7 separate regions of the Homo sapiens genome follow, and regions 2, 3, 4, 5, 6 and 7 are each linked to region 1. Evidence: promoter capture Hi-C in 16 types of primary human blood cells and fetal thymus (Javierre and others, 2016). All regions are on one chromosome and are shown on one strand. Each heading gives the region's core, a stretch centred on a gene start or on the middle of the fragment in contact. The rest is flanking DNA. Distances are from core to core; before and after follow the strand shown. Region 1 holds the start of SLC41A2 (solute carrier family 41 member 2). Region 2 overlaps TXNRD1 (thioredoxin reductase 1). Region 3 overlaps TXNRD1 (thioredoxin reductase 1). Region 4 overlaps TXNRD1 (thioredoxin reductase 1). Region 5 has its middle 50 kb from the start of EID3. Region 6 has its middle 71 kb from the start of EID3. Region 7 overlaps LOC105369949 (a long non-coding RNA gene).

Region 1 (2,579 bases), core at 57-2,556:
ACCAGGATGAGTCATTATAAAAAGCATGACTGCAGATGGCCAAGAGTGATACCGAAGCACCCTTCACCCTGAAGGTTAAGGTTAAAGCTCAAAGTCTGATCGCAAAGCATAAGGAAAAAAAAAAAGAACATGGATAAATGTATGCTGGTGTCCTTCAGCACCAGAAAAGCTGCTACTAAATCACTGGTGTGGCTTGGAATTGGTAGAAGCTTTGATTTGAGGAAAAGAGTATCATTAGCTGTGTAATTTTGAGTTGTTGTTTTAGAGACAAGGTCTCATTTTGTGGCCCAGACTGGAGTGCAGTGATGCGATCATAGCCCGCTGCAGCCTTGAACTCCTGGGCTCAGGCGATCCTCCCACCTCAGTCTCCTAGCCACTCCAGGTCTCGCTGTGTTTGCCCAGGCTGGTCTCAAATTCCTGGCCTCAAGCGATCCTCTCGCCTGGTCCTCCCGAAGTGTTGAGGTTACACGCATGAGCCACCAATCCTGGCATTATGGCATTAGCTGTGTAATTTTTAAAATAACTGTCTTCGGACCAACACCTTTCTTTTGTTCACTGGAGTATCCCTGGGGTGTGTCTCATTCCCTGAATCATACACAGTAGATGCTCAATAGTTTTGTAAATAAAATAAATGAGCTCTCGGATTTACATGCAGACTTTGGATCAGTTTGATCTAGGTTTAAAAGCAAGTGTGGGGAAACTTGAAAAGCCTGGCACCCCAGCCAACTCTTCAGCGCCCCATGCGCTTGGCGCCTACACCTGCCTGGCACGGGGAGGGTGCTATGGGGCTGCCCTAAACCTCACCCCCTCCTGCGGTGGTTCCTGCCCGTCTCGGCTCCTGCACCGCCCACACTATGCGCTGCTGGGCCGAAAGACACGTGGTTCGGTTTTAACTCCAGTCTGCAAGAAACATGACCTCAGCCAAAAAGAGGCCGCTGGTCTGAGAAGAGAAATCATGAGTCATGGATTCGGGGGTTCGGACCTTGGAGCAGGCGGTGAAGTGGGCGTGCGTGGGCTGGTGGGGAAGAGGGATGCCGAAGGAGGCCACAGCCCTTCTCTCCTGGGCAGGCTCCCCAGAAAACTGCCCCCTTGCCGTCATCCAGCGCCCCCGTTCCCGACAGCTGTCTGCCAGGGCGCGGCCGGGGTCCGGGCGGGGCGGTGCTGTCGCTCCGGGTCGCCGCCCCGCGGGCCACATCACCAAGGCCCGGGCTTCCCCGGCGGCGGCGCGGCTGCGCTTGCGCGGGGCTGCCGCGCGGGGGCGGGGCGGCGGGGAGTCAGGGGGCCGCGGGCGCCGACGGCCGGGCTGTCAGCTTGGGGCCGCAGCCGCGCGAGGAGGCGCGGGAGCAGGAAGGAGCTGTGGGCTGGGAGCCGCTGTCCTCCCCGCCACCACCGGTGCCGGGCACCAGGTGAATGCCCCTTCCATCCCCCGCCCCTGGTGTCTCGGTCTGGTCTGAGGAGACGGGGACCCTTCTCACACCGGCCGCTGCCGCCGCCGCGCTCCGGAACAGGTGACCATGGAGGGGAAGTCTCGGCTTCGGCCGCGGCGCCGCGTTCGGGCGCATCAGGTGCGGGAGGGAGGTGGGGCCGAGAGGCCTGGGCTCGGGACCCGGCGGCGGGGGCGCGGGGAGCAGAGGGAGCGGCCCCGCCCGAGCAGCCGTGCCCCCTGCGGACGCCTCTCCGGGCCGCCGGGCAGCGCCCGAGCCCAGGCCCCCGCGCCTGCCCCACCTCGGGCTGAGGGAAGCTGTTCCGCGGCCACCGCGGACAAGCGGTCCCGGGCGCCCAAGGCAGGGACAGGCGGCGGGTGGTGTATGAGTGATGGCTGAAGGTGAGCTGGGATGGAGATGCTGCGAGGCTGGCTCGGGCACACCCCAGATGCCTGTTCAGGGCTCCGCGAGTGCCCCGTCACCCTTTTCTTTCATTCTTCTCTTTATATACACGGAGCATATCTCAAATTTAAAAGCCCAAATGCTCATTTACAGAGAGAGATGACACATATCTATGTGTTACCGATATACATTGATGTGTATATTACGTATATATGTCATCTTTTTTTTGTAGTGACAATTTTTAAATTGAGATATACATCACATGCCATAAAACTCATTCTTCTAAAGTGTGGCTTTTAATATATTCACAGAGTTTTCCAAATATGACCACTATCCAGATCATCATCCCCAAAAGAAACCCTGTCTCTCTTAGTAATCACTCCTCATTTCCCCTTGACCCCACCCCACTAGCCACCACTAATCTACTTTCTGTTTATATGGGTTTGCCTGTTGTGGAAATCTCATATAAATGGAAGCGTACAATATGTGGCTTTTTGTGTCTGGCGTCGAAAGACATACTGTAATGTTTTCAAGTTTCACTCATGTAGTATGTATCAGTACTTTACTTTTTATAGCATATTAATATTGTTGTATCAGTGTACCACATTTGTTTATTCATCAGTTGATGTACATTTGGGTTGTTTCCAGTTTTTGGCCATTGTGTGTAATGCTGCTATGCACATTTGTTTACACGTTTTTGTGGACATGTGTTTTCAGTGCTCTTGGGTATATACCTAGGAGGGCAATTGCTCC
Region 2 (2,579 bases), core at 38-2,537, 670 kb after region 1:
TTGGGTATTAAAGACTAGTCCTTTGTTTTCCGCAATTCTAATTATCTCATCAAATGATCTTGATCAAACTACCCTATGTACAATAATATTAAAGCGTCTCAAACTTGACATTTATCCTAAAAATTATTGGAGGGAGCTTATTTAAAACAAAACAAAAACAATAAGGCAAGCCGGGCGTGGTGGCTCACACTGTAATCCCAGCACTTTGGGAGGCCGAGGTGGGTGGATCACCTGTGGTCAGGAGATCGAGACCAGCCCGACCAACATGGCAAAACCACATCTCTACTAAAAAAATACAAAATTAGCCAGGCATGGTGGTGCATGCCTATAATCCCAGCTACTTGAGAGGCTGAGGCAGGAGAACCACACCACTTGAACCCAGGAGGTGGAGGTTGCAGTGAGCTGAGTTCATGCCACTGCACTCCAGCCCAGGCAACAAGAGCAGAACTCCATCTCAAAAAAAAAAGGCGGGGGGGCGGGGGTAGATTCCTAGCTCTTTCCCGAGTCTACTTCAAAAGAACTCGGGTAAAGCCTGGGCATGCATAATTAACGAGTACTCCAGGGGATTCTGAGCAGGTGGTCTGGAGACTACACTTTTTTGGAACACTCTTCTGCAAAGCTTTCATCCTTTATCAAGGGAGTCACCTAGGCTCACCAACTTCTTCCAGCAGGATTCTTTCTCCCTTGTCTTCTATAGTACACTCACTGTGAAAGCAGGGTAGGTTTTGCTGCTGTTGTTTATTCAGGGAAAAGGGGATGAGGAAGAAACAATATTAAAAGGAGAAAGGAAAAGTGGACATTTTGAAGAGCTCCCTCCATTATTTATGTTGCAATTAAAGTATGAAATCTTAACCTTCTTTTTAAAGGTGTGGCCTTTAGGACTATAAGCACTCAATTCTCCACTAAATAAATGCCTTTCTCCACTGAAACCCAAAGCTCCCTTAAGGGTTTCAAAACCTACCATTTAGCCCCAAATGTGGGCAATAATTGGCTGAAAAGTTCACAGATCTTTCAAACCAATAGTCCTTACCTTGCTGTTTCTCCTTTCATTTTTTAGCACTCATTAAAAAACAAAAATAGGGCTGGGCCCGGTGGCTCACGCCCATAATCCCAGCACTTTGGAAGGCCGAAGTGGGTGGATCACGGCGTCAAAAGTTCAAGACCAGCCTGGCCAAGATGGTGAAACCTTGTCTCTACTAAAAATACAAAAATTAGCTAGGCACGGTGGCAGGCGCCTGTAATCCCAGCTACTCGGGAGGCTGAGGCAGGAGAATCACTTGAACCCGAGGGGCAGAGGTTGCAGTGAGCCAAGATCGCGCCACTGAACTCCAGCCTGGGCAACAGAGTGAGACTCCTTCTCAAAAAAAAAAAAAAAAAAAAAGCTGGGTGCGGTGGGTCACACTTGTAATCCCAGCGCTTTGGACTACAAGGTCAGGAGTTCGAGACCAGCCTGACCAACATGGTGAAACCCCATCTCTACTAAAAATACAAAAATTAGCAGGGTGTGGTGGCGTGTGCCTGTAATCCCAGCTACTCGGGAGGCTGAGGCAGGAAAATCGCTTGAACCTGGGAGGTAGAGGTTGCGGTAAGCCAAGATCATGCCACTGCACTCCAGCCTGAGCAACAGAGCGAGACTTTGTCTCAAAAAAAAAAAAAAAAAAAAAAGACACAAAGTAGAATAAGTTTACTTAAGAAATATGCTAAATGATTTCTTTTAAGTGTTCTTGATGGTATGCTTTTCATTCATGGCACTATACCTCACTAAATGTCGTGACCTGCAGTCCCAGCACTTTAGGAGGCCGAGGCCGGATGATCGCTTGAGCCCAGGAGTTCAAGACCAGCCTGGACAACATAATGAGACCTCCATCTCTAAAGAAAAAAAAGTTTTCAATTAAAAAAAAAGAAAAAACATCAGAACATCAGACCAAATCAATTAAGTGAGTTCCAAAGCTTATAAAAAGAGTGACTCTTTTTACTCCCATTGCCATTAAAACCAGGAGTATCAGTAGAATTACATAAAGATCAAATTACTATATAACTTTGTAAATGTAAACTTATGGCACAGGTGAAAATAATAGAATAATCAGACAGGAAGAAATATACATATATATATATATATATATATATATATATATATATATGTATATTTCTTTTTTTTTTTTTTTGAGACAGGGTCTCACTGTCACCTAGGCCAGGGTGCAGTGGCGCAATCTCAGCTCATTGCAACCTCCACCTCCAGGTTCAAGTTGATTCCCCAGCCTCAGCCTCAGTCCCAGAGTAGCTGGGACCAGAGGCATGTGCCACCAAGCCCTGGCTAATTTTTTTATTTCTAGTAGAGACGGGGTTTCACCGTGTTGCCCAGGCTGATCTGGAACTCCTGAGCTCAAAGCAATCCGCCTGCCTCGGCCTCCCAAGGTGCTGGGATTACAAGTGTGAGCCACCGCACCCGGCCAGGAAGGAATATTAATATAATAGACCGTTATCTCTTTTTACCTGCAAACTAAAGGTCTGAGTAACACAATATATTTTAACTAAAGCTAAAAGCCTCTGTATTTCCATTAATTTTCCATTAATTTGCT
Region 3 (2,579 bases), core at 56-2,555, 650 kb after region 1:
ATGCCTGTAATCCCAGCACTTTGGGAGGCCGAAGCGGGAGGGCTGCCTGAGCTCAGGAGTTCACAATCAGCCTGGGCAACACGGTGAAACCCCGTCTCTACCAAAATACAAAAAAAATTAGCCGGGCGTGGAGGCGTGCACCTGTAGTCCCAGCTATTCGGGAGGCTGAGGCAGGAGAACTGCTTGAACCCAGGAGGCGGAGATTGCAGTGAGCCAAGATCATGGCACTGCACTCCAGCCTGGGTGACAGAGCAAGACTCCGTCTCAAAAAAAAAAAAAAAAAGAAACATTGTTTTTAAAATTTTAACCAAACTTAAAATTGAAAGTGCTATCATTCAGTTCCATTTAAGTGGTACTTCACCTGAAATATAAATAAGACAGACAGTAGAAAACAGCTGCCCCAAACAGTAGAAGGTAGCACAGAGATGGGATAAGGAAAGGAGAAAAATTCCCCCATCCTCCTCCAACTACAACTGCTTGAAATTATGTCCGCTGACTGTGGTGGCTGCTACAGAGGTTCTCAAACTCTTTCATCTCAGGACTCCTTTACAATCTTAAACAGAGCTTTAAAATTGAGACTCCAAAGAGCTTGTTAATGTGGGTTTTATCTATTTACTATATTAGAAATTAAAACTAAGAAGAAACTTAAAATATTCATTAACAAATTAAAAATAATATATTTATTAAATGTTAACGTATTTTTATTTTAAAAAATTTTTTAATTAGAAGAATGGCACTGTTTTGTATCTTTGCGATTCTCTTTAATGTCTGACAACAAAAGACAGCTCATATCTGTTTCTCCATTCAATCTGTTGCCACATCACCTGTCATATAACCTCTGGAAAACTTCACAGTTTACATGCAAGAGAATTAAGAGTGAAAAGGGCAGCGAGGCGTGGTGGCTCACGCCTGTAATCCCAGCACTTTGAGAGGCCAAGGCGGGTGGATCATGAGGTCTGGAGATCGAGACCATCCTGGCTAACACGGTGAAACCCCGTCTCTACTACAAATATAAAAAATTAGCTGGGCGTGGTGGCAGGCGCCTGTAGTCCCAGCTACTCGAGAGGCTGAGGCAGGAGAATGGCGTGAACCCGGGAGGCGGAGCTCACAGTGAGCCAAGATCATGCCACTGCACTCCAGCCTGGGCTACAGAGTGAGACTCCATCTCAAAAAAAAAAAAAAGAAAGAAAAGGGCAAACAGCATCTTACTATTATGAAAATAATTCTGACCTTAAAGTATGCCAAAAGGGCCTCATACACTTTGAGAACCAATGCTATAGAATATGAGATGACCTGCAGGCAACTGTCACTTGTTGGCAAGGCTTACACATTAGATAGCCTTCCTTTTCATCCACCTGCCTGTCATAGTAATCCCTTTCCCCAGACCCACTCCTAGTAAAACACTGCTCCAGGCTCCCCCAAAAAGGGCACAAAACAGAAAGCAATTCAACTGTGGCAGTCTTTTAAAATTGGAATAAGCAATCCTGACTTTTCCCCTAAACATAGTTTCTATCCTTTGCCAGATTTGTACTTTTATTTCCCCTACCATTATAGATGGCTCTGATGCAGAAATAACCTGCGTTAAAATACTTGCTCTACCACTCACAAGGCCAGGTGACTTCGACCAATCACCTAATCCTTAACGAAGCTAACAGGTTCCTGACCTCATCAAATGGCTGAGTTTAAGAAAGATAATGCATGTTAGCATAGTGGCTGGTAGGAATTAATCCCTTTAAGTTACTAATTCTCCATCTCCTGAAGAAGGGAAATTGCCTGGAACTAAGTCAAGAAGTGCTGGAATGTATTTACACTGGTGTCCTCCGCTGAGCTTCCCTGCGTCAATCTCCACTATTTTGAAATGCCCTCTTCCTAACAAATCTTGATCCAGTATATAGACAGACTAGCATAATGTTATTTCTATTCAGTATACAAACGTATTAGCAAGAAACAAGCAGATTTGCAGTTTGATTCTTAACCTCTATAAATTTTTAATCTCCTTTTTTCTTCAAGGTAAGCAGTCAGTTTAATTTCAAAATTTCAAAAATGATGAGGCAATCCATCATCCTCATCATTTTACTGGTTGGTGTCATGCCAACCAGTAAAAATAGAAACAGAAGTGGTCAACTTTATATTTTAACAGCTATTAACTTTAGAGAAGACCAAAAAAATTACCTCTCCTAAGCCTCCAGATTCTCTATTAATGCTTTTAAATCATCACTGTCAAATACTCCTAGTAAAGACATGAGACATTCAACAGAGCAACTGAATGTCAGTAAAGTACTGGGGCGGGATCTTTTTGCTGTCATTAAGAGTACTTTTTCTTCCAACAGCAGATCTCTGCAAAACCCAAGGAACTTGGTTGGTAGAGACATGCTGGAAATGAGGATGAGTGAGATCAAATGGTGCTTCCATGACTGCTACTATAAATCAAAGGATACTAGACACTAGCAAGGGTCAGCGCTCTTTCATATGTGAAAGGAGTAACTAATTTAGAAAATAATTTGCCAAGTTTCATGAGAAAGTTCTATTTTTGCTAAAACCTCTACTCTATTATTGGTGAAGAACCTCATCTCCATACA
Region 4 (2,579 bases), core at 50-2,549, 620 kb after region 1:
AAAAGAAAAAGACAACTATATATACAATTGTTATTTATGTTAGCTGTGTAGCTCATTATGGGTTATCCTAGTATATTCATTTGAATCTTTTTTGCAGAGGATTCAAGAAAATGTTTTCTAAAACCCTTGGTTTTACCAAAAAACCAACCTGTAACTGTCCTACTGCCTAAAGCAGTAGTTTCCAAATAGGATACATGGCTTAATTATATTCAAATTTCAAGATTAAAACATTATCAGTTTACTAGGCTTTTAACATACAGATTCTTTAACATCATTTATATTTTTACTGAGGTCGTTTCTTTAAAAAGTGTTAGCTAAGTTAAAAAGATCAGTTTTCTTAAGAGTCAATATTAAAGAGAGTGTGTGTATATGAATATACCAGTGTCCCACAGTCAAAAAACTTTAAAAAATATGAATTATCCAATCCCTCATTTCATATATATGGAAAAAAACCCTGTGAGGTATAGAGTTTGCTCACAGGCTTTCACAGGTTTCTGCTAAAAAAGTACTGTAATAGGCCGGGCGCGGTGGCTCACACCTGTAATCCCAGCACTTTGGGAGACCAAGGCAGACGGATCACCTGAGGTCAGGAGTTCGAGACCAGCCTGGCCAACATGGTGAAACCCCGTCTCTACTAAAAATACAGAATAGCTGGGCATGGTGGTGGGTGCCTGTAATCCCAGCTACTTGGGAGGCTGAGGCAGGAAAATCACTTGAACCTGGGAGGCGAAGGTTGCAGTGAACCAAGATCACGCCACTGCACTCCAGCCTGGGCAACAGAGCAAGACTCCGTCTCAAAAAAAAAAAAAAAAAAAGGACTGTAATATATTGCATATTGTACTCTTATTCACCTGGACAGTTGGGGGTTTATGGTATGAATAAAGTATATCTGTGGGAGGACTACTAAAAAGCACTTAAAATACATTAGATTTACACGTAATAACACCAGACTAGCATTACATGTAGCATCAGGCAATGAAATCTTAGAACTCAATTAAGAGCTCTTTCTTAGTAGTGCCAGCTGCTGAGGATCAAACGTGCATTGCTCCTGTTCTTTTTTGTTATTCATTATATTTAGATAGTCGATGACTTTATTGTTCCTCTTCTATAAACACAAACATAGACAGTTCTCAAGTTGTGCCTTTGGTTCCTTCACTCAGTAAGTTTTGGCTGCCTGTTGACTAAGTGTAGGGCCCTGTGCCAGTGAAGATGAGGGGGCAGCAGGCAGTGCAGCCAAGGTCCTTGCCAGCTGCTGATATCTATCAGCTGAGACAACTGGCACGCGAAATACTGAAGGAATGCCATCTGCACCATGTGACCAACTAAGCTATATATTAAAAACTAAAGCCGGGTATGGTGGCTCACGCCTGTACATTCCAGCACCTTGGGAGGCCGAGACAGGCAGATTACGAGGTCAGGTGTTCAAGACCAGCCTGGCCAACATGGTGAAACCCCCGTCTACAAAAATTAGCCAGTGTGGTGGCGCAAGTCTGTAATCCCAGTTAGTTGGGAGGCTGAGGCAGGAGAATCACTTGAACCCGGGAGGCGGAGGTTGCAGTGAGCAGAGATAGCGCCACTGCACTCCAGCCTGGGCAACAGAGCAAGACTCCATCTAAAAAAAAAACAACAACAAAAAACAACAACTAAATAAAATTACTGGAAAGGATTGAGAATTAAACTTACATTGTCTTTAGTATTACAGATTATTTTTGCATAACATTTGTTGTTATCTCTTGACGGAATCGTCCATTCCAATGGCCAAAAGTAACTATGGTAAACCTAAGAAGATACAAAAGCAAAATTTAGACCCATTATTTTAAACATTAAGTCTGTCAAACATATATGGTGAAAGACAGTAGAGACTCTTTAATAAGTAGACTTTCATTAAATAATAAAATTCATGGAATAAATAGGAATCTGGTCAAAAGGTAAATGACTTTCAACTCCTTGCTGTCAGGCACTTTTGCTATAAGCTCATCCCTTAATTATGTATATCTCTACCTCAAAATAGTACACCCTAACTAATAACAAAAAAGAGCAAGGGAATGACAGAAATAAGCCATTTAATTACCTGCTGTCATACATTGAAAACACACACACACCCAAACTCAATACTATCTTGTTATCCACTGTGAATGACAACTTGGGCAAGAAACAAATAAGGTGCCAGGATCAATTAAGGTAATTATCTAGTTCTCTTGCTAAATGCTTCCAAAAGACATTTCCTCCTTTGGCATTATTCACTAAAAGCAATGAAGGAAGGAGATAGGGAAGGAAAGAAGGAAGGAGATAGGGAAGGAAAGGAGGAAGGAAGGGTGGAACGACAGCATCCTTACTAATTTAATTGCTGGTTGACTAAATGGATTTTTTTTTTCCTCCAGCTGCTAGCCTCAGTTCAAAACATGATTCGCTACCTTTTACGAGCAAACTGATTATGAAGACATAACAAGTGTTCTTCGATGTTGTGATAAATAATATAATTTTAAAAATAAACATGGGTTACAAAATTTAATGTACAGTATCATAGTATCACAATTATATAGGAAAAAAATTAAAGGAATCACCCCAAATTGCTAACA
Region 5 (2,579 bases), core at 41-2,540, 600 kb after region 1:
CATAATTTTCTTCCTTGACTCTGCTGACTTAGCACACACTCACCCAGACTGTTTGCTTTTGCAATTATTAGGCAGGTTCTACCTCATTTTCCCGACATACAAGAGGGTATCACCATCATACACAAAAGGAAGCCAATGGCAAGGACTTCTGATGCCTCACTTGAGGTCTGTAGGATGTGTTTCCCGCATACCTACCACATGTGGACTGCAGGGCCAAGGACCTGTCGGCTTTTTTTTTTTTATAAGCAATGTATGCTTTCTTCACGCTCTTCAATTGCACTGCAATCAAAAGTGTGCTTACGTGGCTGGGTGTGTTTAAGAATGTAGGAGAATCTACAAAGATGATGATGGGCAGGATGGTGGCGTGGAAAAATAGATAACTGGAAGTTAAAACTGGCTTCTGTGTTTGGCTGTTTAACCTTGAACTTGATGTTGACTCGGTAGCTTTGCCTATTTAGCTCTCAGTTTCTGCATCTGCAAACAGACTTGGAGGAGCTGACCTCCCTTTCCAATCTCAAATACTATGAAATAGTGCTGGATAGATGAACAACTGTACTAAAGGACGTTCACTGGTAAGACCATGCTCACTTTGAGGGCCAAGGGACACAGAAGCATCCTAGTCTGCTCTGCTCAGCTCCTTGTGAGATCTTGTGGCACAAAAAAAGTGCCCAGAAGGCAATGTGTCAACGCATCAGTGAAGTGTATTAGCAGGAAGGGTACTGCAGGGAAACCCTGCTTCCTTGCTACGGAACCTCACATTTAAAAACTTAATGCATCCCTTTTCCTTTCCTAAATAAAATCTTGTAAAATGTTAAAAGTTGAGTGCTGTGATATAAAGGGGGTATAAGGCCTGGCCTACTTGTTCTGTAACCTCCCTCTCCAACTCCCACGTATTAATTATCTATTGCTGTGTCAGAAATTACCCCAAAATTTAGTGCATGTTTAACCCATTCCTCGACTTCAGACTGATGTTGGAACCATGGTAGGTGATGGTCAGGAAGGGCCTTCTGCTGTAGCATCTTTCTTTCTAGTCTGGTCTATTTCTGTATGTGAAAACTTGATGGACATATTCCTATTACCTAGTATTCTGCCAGTACTCCAAGCTGCACCCTCCACCCCCACCTCTTCTAAGCTGCTTGTTTTAAAAAGTTTATTAAAAATATAGATATTATCCCTTAATAGTTTAAGGTAGAACCAAATAAAAAATATATAGATAGATAGATAATACTGATAAACAAATGCCCAAGTCCTGAGCGACCTTTCAGTCATGGTTGCCCCTTCCTAATCCCATCTTCTATTGTTTGGCCCCACCCAAATCTCATCTTAATTGTAGCTCCCCTAATTCCCACGCGTTGCGGGAGGGACCTGGTGGGAGATAATTGAATCATGGGCAGCTTCCCTCATACCGTTCTCGTGGCAGTGAGTAAGTCTTACGAGGCCTGATGGTTTTATAAGGGTAGATCCCCTTCACTTGGTTCTCATTCTGTCTTGTCTGCTGCCACGTAAGACGTGCCTTTTGCCTTCTGCCATGATTGTGAAGCCTCCCCCGCCACGTGGAACTGTGAGTCCATTAAACCTTTTTTCTTTATAAATTACCCAGTCTCGGGTATGTCTTTATCGGCAGCATGAAAACAGACTAATACACCATCCACTGTTCTACCCCTTCATTGGTAACTACTAGCTTCTATTTTATGATCATCATTTTGAATTCTCTTGCTTTCCCTTAGGGTATTACAATTTTATCTCTAAACACTGTATTTCTTAGCTTTGCCTCTCTGTACACATAATGAAATCATATTGCACATACTCCTTTGACTTTTTCACTCAATACTGTTTCTTAGATCTATTTTGTTACATATATCCTGCTGTTAGTCTTCTGTTACATGGACACACCACAACTCATTTGCCCATTCTCATGGTGATGGATATTTGGGCTGCTTCCACGTTTGTTTTTGGGATTTATTTTGTTTTGCAATTAATAACAGTGTTATGAACACTCCTGTACAAGTCTTTAGGTACGTAGACAGTGCATTTGTGCTGGGTATTCACCTAAGCGTGTAACAGCTGGGTCATGAGCTATCCATGCGTTTAATTCTACTGGGTAACGGCCAGTATCATTTTTTGGTTTGGGGGGTTTTTGCTTACACCTAAATGATGAAAAACTCTATTTTGCATCATGGTATCTGAAAAATGAAACTGCACTGGGTGCAAATGATAGATGAGGAATGACCTATGTGTGTTAAGTACAAAACTCAATTATACAATTATAGAATTACTATTACTAGTAACAGATACTCCAAATTATTAATGTTTAAGTAGAAGTAAAACATGATTTACCATACTAAAAGGCTAGACGTGACATATGACAGAATTTTAAGCCAGAAGCTATAAATGTAGCATCTATGTGTATATTTTAAAAATCAAATATTGGGAAAAAAACAAATATTGAGGAAGAGCTCTGGCCTTAAACACATCTTACCTGAAATCCAACCAGAAAGCCAGTCCATGATCTTTTAGCAATTTAAATTCATTGTATTAAAAAAAATTATGAATGCTAAGTGAATCCAGGGACAAAAAGG
Region 6 (2,579 bases), core at 26-2,525, 580 kb after region 1:
CTACGATAAGCTGGGTGACCCTGGGCCAGTGACTCACCCTTTCTGGGCCTCAGTTTTGTCATCTCTGAAGAGTACACCCATGCCAGAGCTGTGGAGATGACAAAGGATAAGGTGTATGTAACGCTTAGCACACACCTAAATGGCGTTGAATCGATGGCCTTCAACAACTTGCGCTAGTAAATGGCAGAGCTGGGAGGTGACAGCTTCTGCTTTTCCCGCAGTGCCAGGTGGGACCAGTTGAACACTAAGACCCTTCTCATCTGGCAGCCCCCAAAGCCAAAGCCCAGAATTCCCACTATAATTCACTCAAGCAGAAGGTCCAAAACTTTGGGTGGAAGGAAGGCCCAACAGGAACCTCAGTGGAATTTCTCTCAGTGGCCCCACATGGCTTCTGCCCACCTTGGTGGTGCTGGGGCACTCTGTCTCCCTGGCGCCCTACTTGGGTGGGGCCAAGCCCAGGCCAGCCCCACCCACATCTCCGCCGGGACCTATTTTGGTGTCCCAGTGTGTGGCTGTTGCAAATGAAAGCCTGAACAGTTTGATGCTACAGTTCCAGGAGCAGGCCAGCCCACCACCCCTCACACCCCTCCCTGGGCAGGACACCAGCAGGTCCCACAAAACATCAAGCTGCCTCATTAAGGACAGGGGCTGTCCAGCGGGAGGGGGTGTGAGAATGGGCAAAGGTGTGGTGTCCTCTGTCAGACCACAGGTGGGTGCTGTGGTGGGAGGGGAGTGTGAGGGCAGCAGGGGTGGCCGGAAGGGATACAGGTCTGCAGGGACAATGCGAGGCCTCTTTCCATCTCATCCGACTCCCACAGACCTGGGGGAGTACAAAAATCATCCCTGGGATGTTTACAAAACTTGGGAAAAAAAAAAAAAAAGAAGGAGGAGAAGGTACAGAGTGGGAAATAAAGGCCTGAAAAGGCCTCTGTGGAATCCCTGCTGTTTGCAAAGCTTCACCGACACAGATTCTAGCACCTCTGTTGCTAAAGGCTCTTTGCACTGAGAACTCTTTCTGACATGAGATTGCCTTTGCCAAGAATAATTTTGCCAGCTCTGAGTTGCTACCCACCAGGAGGTGGGGAGATGGAAATTTCCAGAAGCCCCCTATCCAATGGGGCCTTTCACAGCTCACTCAATGGACTCTGGAAAATAGCAAACCACCATCTCATCTGTTTAGAAAATACTGCAGGGGTTTCTTTAAAAGAGTTTAAAACATATTCTAGAATCCACTGTAAAACATTACCAAAGGTGTTTCTTAATTGCTGCTAATTTTACACAGCAATGACTTTATCTCTAAATGGGCCTTTCAATCTTCATCTATGTAGATATACACGTTTACATTCTTTAAATCACAGTATTATTAAATTTCATTTAGCAACATCCCGTAAACCTGTTCTCCTGGTTTGATAGTCCTCTTGTTAATTCTAATAATAGCATGCCATTTCATTGCATTCATATACCACAGATTTCTTAACCAGATTGTACAAAATAATTTTCTACCATTATAAACAATGCTGCAATGAACATCTTTGTGTATATGCTCTTTTCACATATGAGCTGCTTAAATTAATTTTCAGTCATTTGCTAAGCTTATGTTTATTGGGTACCTACTATGTATGTTAGGACCTAGGGGTAAGTGAACAGAACAGATGCAGTCTCTGCCCCACAGTCTAAATGTTCTATATTTTAATAATTTTTGGGTCTTCCTGTGTGAGGCTCAAATATATTTTTTAAAATCCTCTGAGTTTAAAATGGTAGCATTTGCAGCTGAGAAAGTATACACTGAGGGCTGCCAGCTTCAGGAGGAGATGGAACACAGAGTTTCCCGACATTGTTGGAGGTGGGGCTGGTGAACCACACCCCTCTCTTGCCTACTCATGGAGCCTGCCAGGGTCCCAGGGATGGACAGCAAAGTGGCAGCTCATTTTTACAAGAGGTAGGCTGGGGATGAGGCCGGGCGTGGTGGCTCATGCCTGTAATCCCAGCACTTTGGGAGGCCAAGGCGGGCAGATCATGAGGTCAGGAGATCGAGACCATCCTGGCTAACACGGTGAAACCTCATTTCTACTAAAAACTCAAAAAAATTAGCCGGGCATGGTGGCGGGCGCCTGTAGTCCCAGCTACTCGGGAGGCTGAGGCAGGAGAACGGTGTGAACCCGGGAGGCGGAGCTTGCAGTGAGCCGAGACAGCGCCACTGCACTCCAGCCTGGGCGACAGAGTGAGACCCTGTCTCAAAAACAAAAAAAAAAAGAGGTAGGCTGGGGAACGGGAAGCTGGGGACAATGTGCAAGGCTGCCAAGACTGCAGTGCACAAACGAATTTGCCCATCCTTCACAGGGGCTGCTGGGGGACCTCTGCAGACCTCCATCCACCCCCAACCCCAGGGCCTGACCCTCTTCACCCTTGGTGGGAGCTGGCTCCCACAGGGGAGGGATGAGCTGAGCACACTCACTCTTTCTCCTGAGCTCCTTAAATCGGGTAACTCTCTCCTCTCCTGACAGAGGCCGGGATGCTGCTCTCCTCTGGGGGCCCTTCTGCATGGACACATAGATGGAGACCTAAAGCTCATGGGCAAG
Region 7 (2,579 bases), core at 30-2,529, 560 kb after region 1:
GCCAAAAACCTTGTGTATTAATTATATATTGTGGCATAACAAATTGTCCCAAAATTTAACAGTTTAAAAAGCACACATGTATTATCTCAGTTTTGTGGGTGAAAAATCTGGATATGGCTTAGCTGTCCCCTCTGCTTTGGTGTCTTTCTCAAAGAACAGTCACACTGTTGACTGGTGCCGTGCTCTCATCTCATGGCACAACTGGGAAGGATGCACTCCAAGCTCACGTGGTTCAAGATTCAGTTCATCAGGGGTAGTTGGACTGACATCTTCAGTTCCTGGCTGGCTGTTGGTCAGGGGCTGCCCTCAGTTCCTTGCCATGTGGGCCTCTCAACAAGGCAGATTGCTTCACTGAAGTGTTAAAGCCAAGAAAGCAATGGAGAGAATCTGCCAGCAAGACAGAAGTCACAATCTTGGTGATATATCCACAGAAATGAGATCCCATCAACTTTGCCGTAATCTATTCATGATTAAAAAAAAAAAAAAAAGGGCGGGCAGGGTGCGGTGGCTCACGCCTGTAATCCCGGCACTTTGGGAGGCCAAGGTGGGTGGATCATGAGGTCAGGAGTTCAAGACCAGCCTGGCCAAGATGGTGAAACCTGTCTCTACTAAAAATACAAAAAATTAGCCAGGCGTGGTGGCGCACGCCTGTAATCCCAGCTACTCGGGAGGCTGAGGCAGAAGAATTGCTTGAACTCAGAGGGTGGAGATTGCAGTGAGCCCAGATTACGCCACTGCACTCCAGCCTGGGCAACAGAGTGAGACTCTGTCTCAAAAAAAAAAAGTCACTAGGTCCATCACAGACTCAAGAAGAAAGTTATACAAGAGCATGAATACCAGGAGGTGGGGGTAACTGTGAGCTGTGTCATAAACTGCCTACCGCATTGGAGTCATCCTCAATTTCTCACCTTCTCTCATATCCTCTATCCAATACTTCAGGCAGTCCAGCAGGCTGCAACTTCAAAGCAATTGACTCAGCATCAGTTTGCTGATGGTTTGCTCAAATGTCACCTGTTCAGTGGCATTTAACCATCTTACTTAAAATTGCAACTCACCCACAGACACACATATTCCCACTCCTCTTCCCTCATTTTTCTTTATAGCAGCAATCACCATCAGACATTCCAGATATTTAATCGTCTTTTAAATTTGCTCTCTCTCCACCTTAGCATGTAAGCTCTGTGAGGGCAGTGGTTTTTACCTGTTTTGTTTGCTGCTGTATTCCCCAGGCCTAGTGCAGCACACACAAAACAAATATTGTGGAATGAATAAATGTTAAAATACATGGAAATATGTTCTCTTTTTTAAAAAAAAACCTAAGGGAACACCTTATTCAAAGAATGTCAAAGATTCCATCATCTATACACACATAAGTATAGACTCTGTTGGTTTCACTAGGCTCCTAAATGGAGACCATCACAGCTCTAGCCACCTACTACCCATTCCTAACCCCTCCTATACCAAAACCAGGTGAGATTGGCCAAAGGAACAGGCTCCATTTCAGCCTCAAAATTCTGGGGTGGTCTCTGACTTAGCCTTGAAAACCACACTCCATGGACCTCCTGGTCTAAAACTACAGGGGACACTCTGCCAAGGAAGCCCTTAACTCCAAAAGACCCTGCCTGCCAATGGGCAGACCATGGTCATGGGTAAACAGCAATGGGAGGCAGCCAAGGACAGAAGGAACCGGGTGTATTTTTCTGCTTAATGACCAATGGCCAAGAGGCTCAAGGGACTCTTTGTAACCTAGAGCGCCTCAAACTTTTCCACACCAGTATCGTTTGGGGCAGCAAAAATGATCACTGAACCCTGGGGGCTTGGAGGTCTAGACTGAAGCTGACCAGGAAGTTAGAAATGTATCTGCTCATCTTAGTTTTCACTTTAAGATTCACCTGGATTTCATATATTCCCCAGTAATGTAGCTGCATTGAATTTAATGCAACAATAATGCTTTAAATTACTTACACATTTTTTCAAAAAATTCTACCTTTTTTTTCAGTCAATGAATGCAATGCTAAAGTACCAAGAAATTCTGGAAAATTTGTACTGAATTGAAGTGAGTGCATACTGCAAGCAGATTCAGGGCAATTTCTTTTCATGATAGCTGGAAAATTCAGATGCTCATAAACATTTGGGTGCAGAAGGCAGATGGCAGACAGCAAGGAAGTCTCAGGGGAGAAAGTACTGTCAGGGAGGAAGTACCATGCACCTCTTTGAGGCTCCTATCCATGGACATTCTGTATTAGACCATTCTCACACTGCTAATAAAGACATATCCAAGACTGGCTTATTTATAAAGAAAAAGAGGTTTAATGGACTCAGTTCCACGTTCCTAGGGAGGCCTCACAATCATGGTGTAAGGTGAAGGAGGAGTAAAGGCACGTTTTATATGGTGGCAGGCAAGAGAGAGTGTGCAGGGGAATTCCCCTTTATAAAACCATCAGATCACGTGATATGTATTCACTATCACGAGAATAGCATGGGAAAGACCTGCCACCATGATTCAATTACCTCCCACTGGGTCCCTCCCACAACATATAGAGATTATGGGAGCTACAATTCAAGATAAGATGGATTTG

Evidence for each region. Contacts are between HindIII fragments. The CHiCAGO score rates a contact against its expected background, and 5 or more counts as called.
Region 2: a fragment that was not itself captured here is called in contact with the fragment with the promoter of SLC41A2 in region 1 in 3 of 17 cell types (naive CD8 T cells, total CD8 T cells and total B cells); the score reaches 5.4 in naive CD8 T cells.
Region 3: a fragment that was not itself captured here is called in contact with the fragment with the promoter of SLC41A2 in region 1 in 2 of 17 cell types (naive B cells and total B cells); the score reaches 5.5 in naive B cells.
Region 4: a fragment that was not itself captured here is called in contact with the fragment with the promoter of SLC41A2 in region 1 in 1 of 17 cell types (neutrophils); the score reaches 6.3 in neutrophils.
Region 5: a contact is called between a fragment that was not itself captured here and the fragment with the promoter of SLC41A2 in region 1, in 2 of 17 cell types (non-activated CD4 T cells and total B cells). The highest score is 5.2, in non-activated CD4 T cells.
Region 6: a contact is called between a fragment that was not itself captured here and the fragment with the promoter of SLC41A2 in region 1, in 17 of 17 cell types (naive B cells, naive CD4 T cells, total B cells and 14 more). The highest score is 14.4, in naive B cells.
Region 7: a contact is called between a fragment that was not itself captured here and the fragment with the promoter of SLC41A2 in region 1, in 1 of 17 cell types (monocytes). The highest score is 5.0, in monocytes.

Annotation. Positions count from the first base shown.
Region 1 is chr12:104,957,017-104,959,595 of GRCh38, reverse strand. SLC41A2 (solute carrier family 41 member 2) reads left to right here and starts at 1,306. Exons shown (of 11, transcript NM_001352171.3): 1 at 1,306-1,508. RefSeq lists silencers at 1,128-1,397, 1,588-1,917. The HindIII fragment of the contact is 5,296 bases long and covers 212-2,579 here.
Region 2 is chr12:104,290,283-104,292,861 of GRCh38, reverse strand. The region is part of intron 4 of TXNRD1 (thioredoxin reductase 1); the gene reads right to left. Among named protein-coding and RNA genes, the nearest start is that of TXNRD1-AS1, 11 kb to the right of the region's middle. The HindIII fragment of the contact is 1,331 bases long and covers 622-1,952 here.
Region 3 is chr12:104,306,603-104,309,181 of GRCh38, reverse strand. The region is part of intron 4 of TXNRD1 (thioredoxin reductase 1); the gene reads right to left. Among named protein-coding and RNA genes, the nearest start is that of EID3, 4.2 kb to the right of the region's middle. The HindIII fragment of the contact is 2,945 bases long and covers 1-2,579 here.
Region 4 is chr12:104,333,437-104,336,015 of GRCh38, reverse strand. TXNRD1 (thioredoxin reductase 1) reads right to left here. Exons shown (of 17, transcript NM_001093771.3): 15 at 1,684-1,779. Among named protein-coding and RNA genes, the nearest start is that of EID3, 31 kb to the right of the region's middle. The HindIII fragment of the contact is 3,413 bases long and covers 1-2,579 here.
Region 5 is chr12:104,352,723-104,355,301 of GRCh38, reverse strand. No RefSeq gene overlaps it. Among named protein-coding and RNA genes, the nearest start is that of EID3, 50 kb to the right of the region's middle. The HindIII fragment of the contact is 6,179 bases long and covers 1-2,579 here.
Region 6 is chr12:104,373,096-104,375,674 of GRCh38, reverse strand. No RefSeq gene overlaps it. Among named protein-coding and RNA genes, the nearest start is that of EID3, 71 kb to the right of the region's middle. RefSeq lists enhancers at 49-560, 2,123-2,579. The HindIII fragment of the contact is 638 bases long and covers 957-1,594 here.
Region 7 is chr12:104,395,987-104,398,565 of GRCh38, reverse strand. It overlaps LOC105369949 (a long non-coding RNA gene), which reads right to left. Exons shown (of 4, transcript XR_007063432.1): 4 at 1-387. Among named protein-coding and RNA genes, the nearest start is that of CHST11, 60 kb to the left of the region's middle. The HindIII fragment of the contact is 8,929 bases long and covers 1-2,579 here.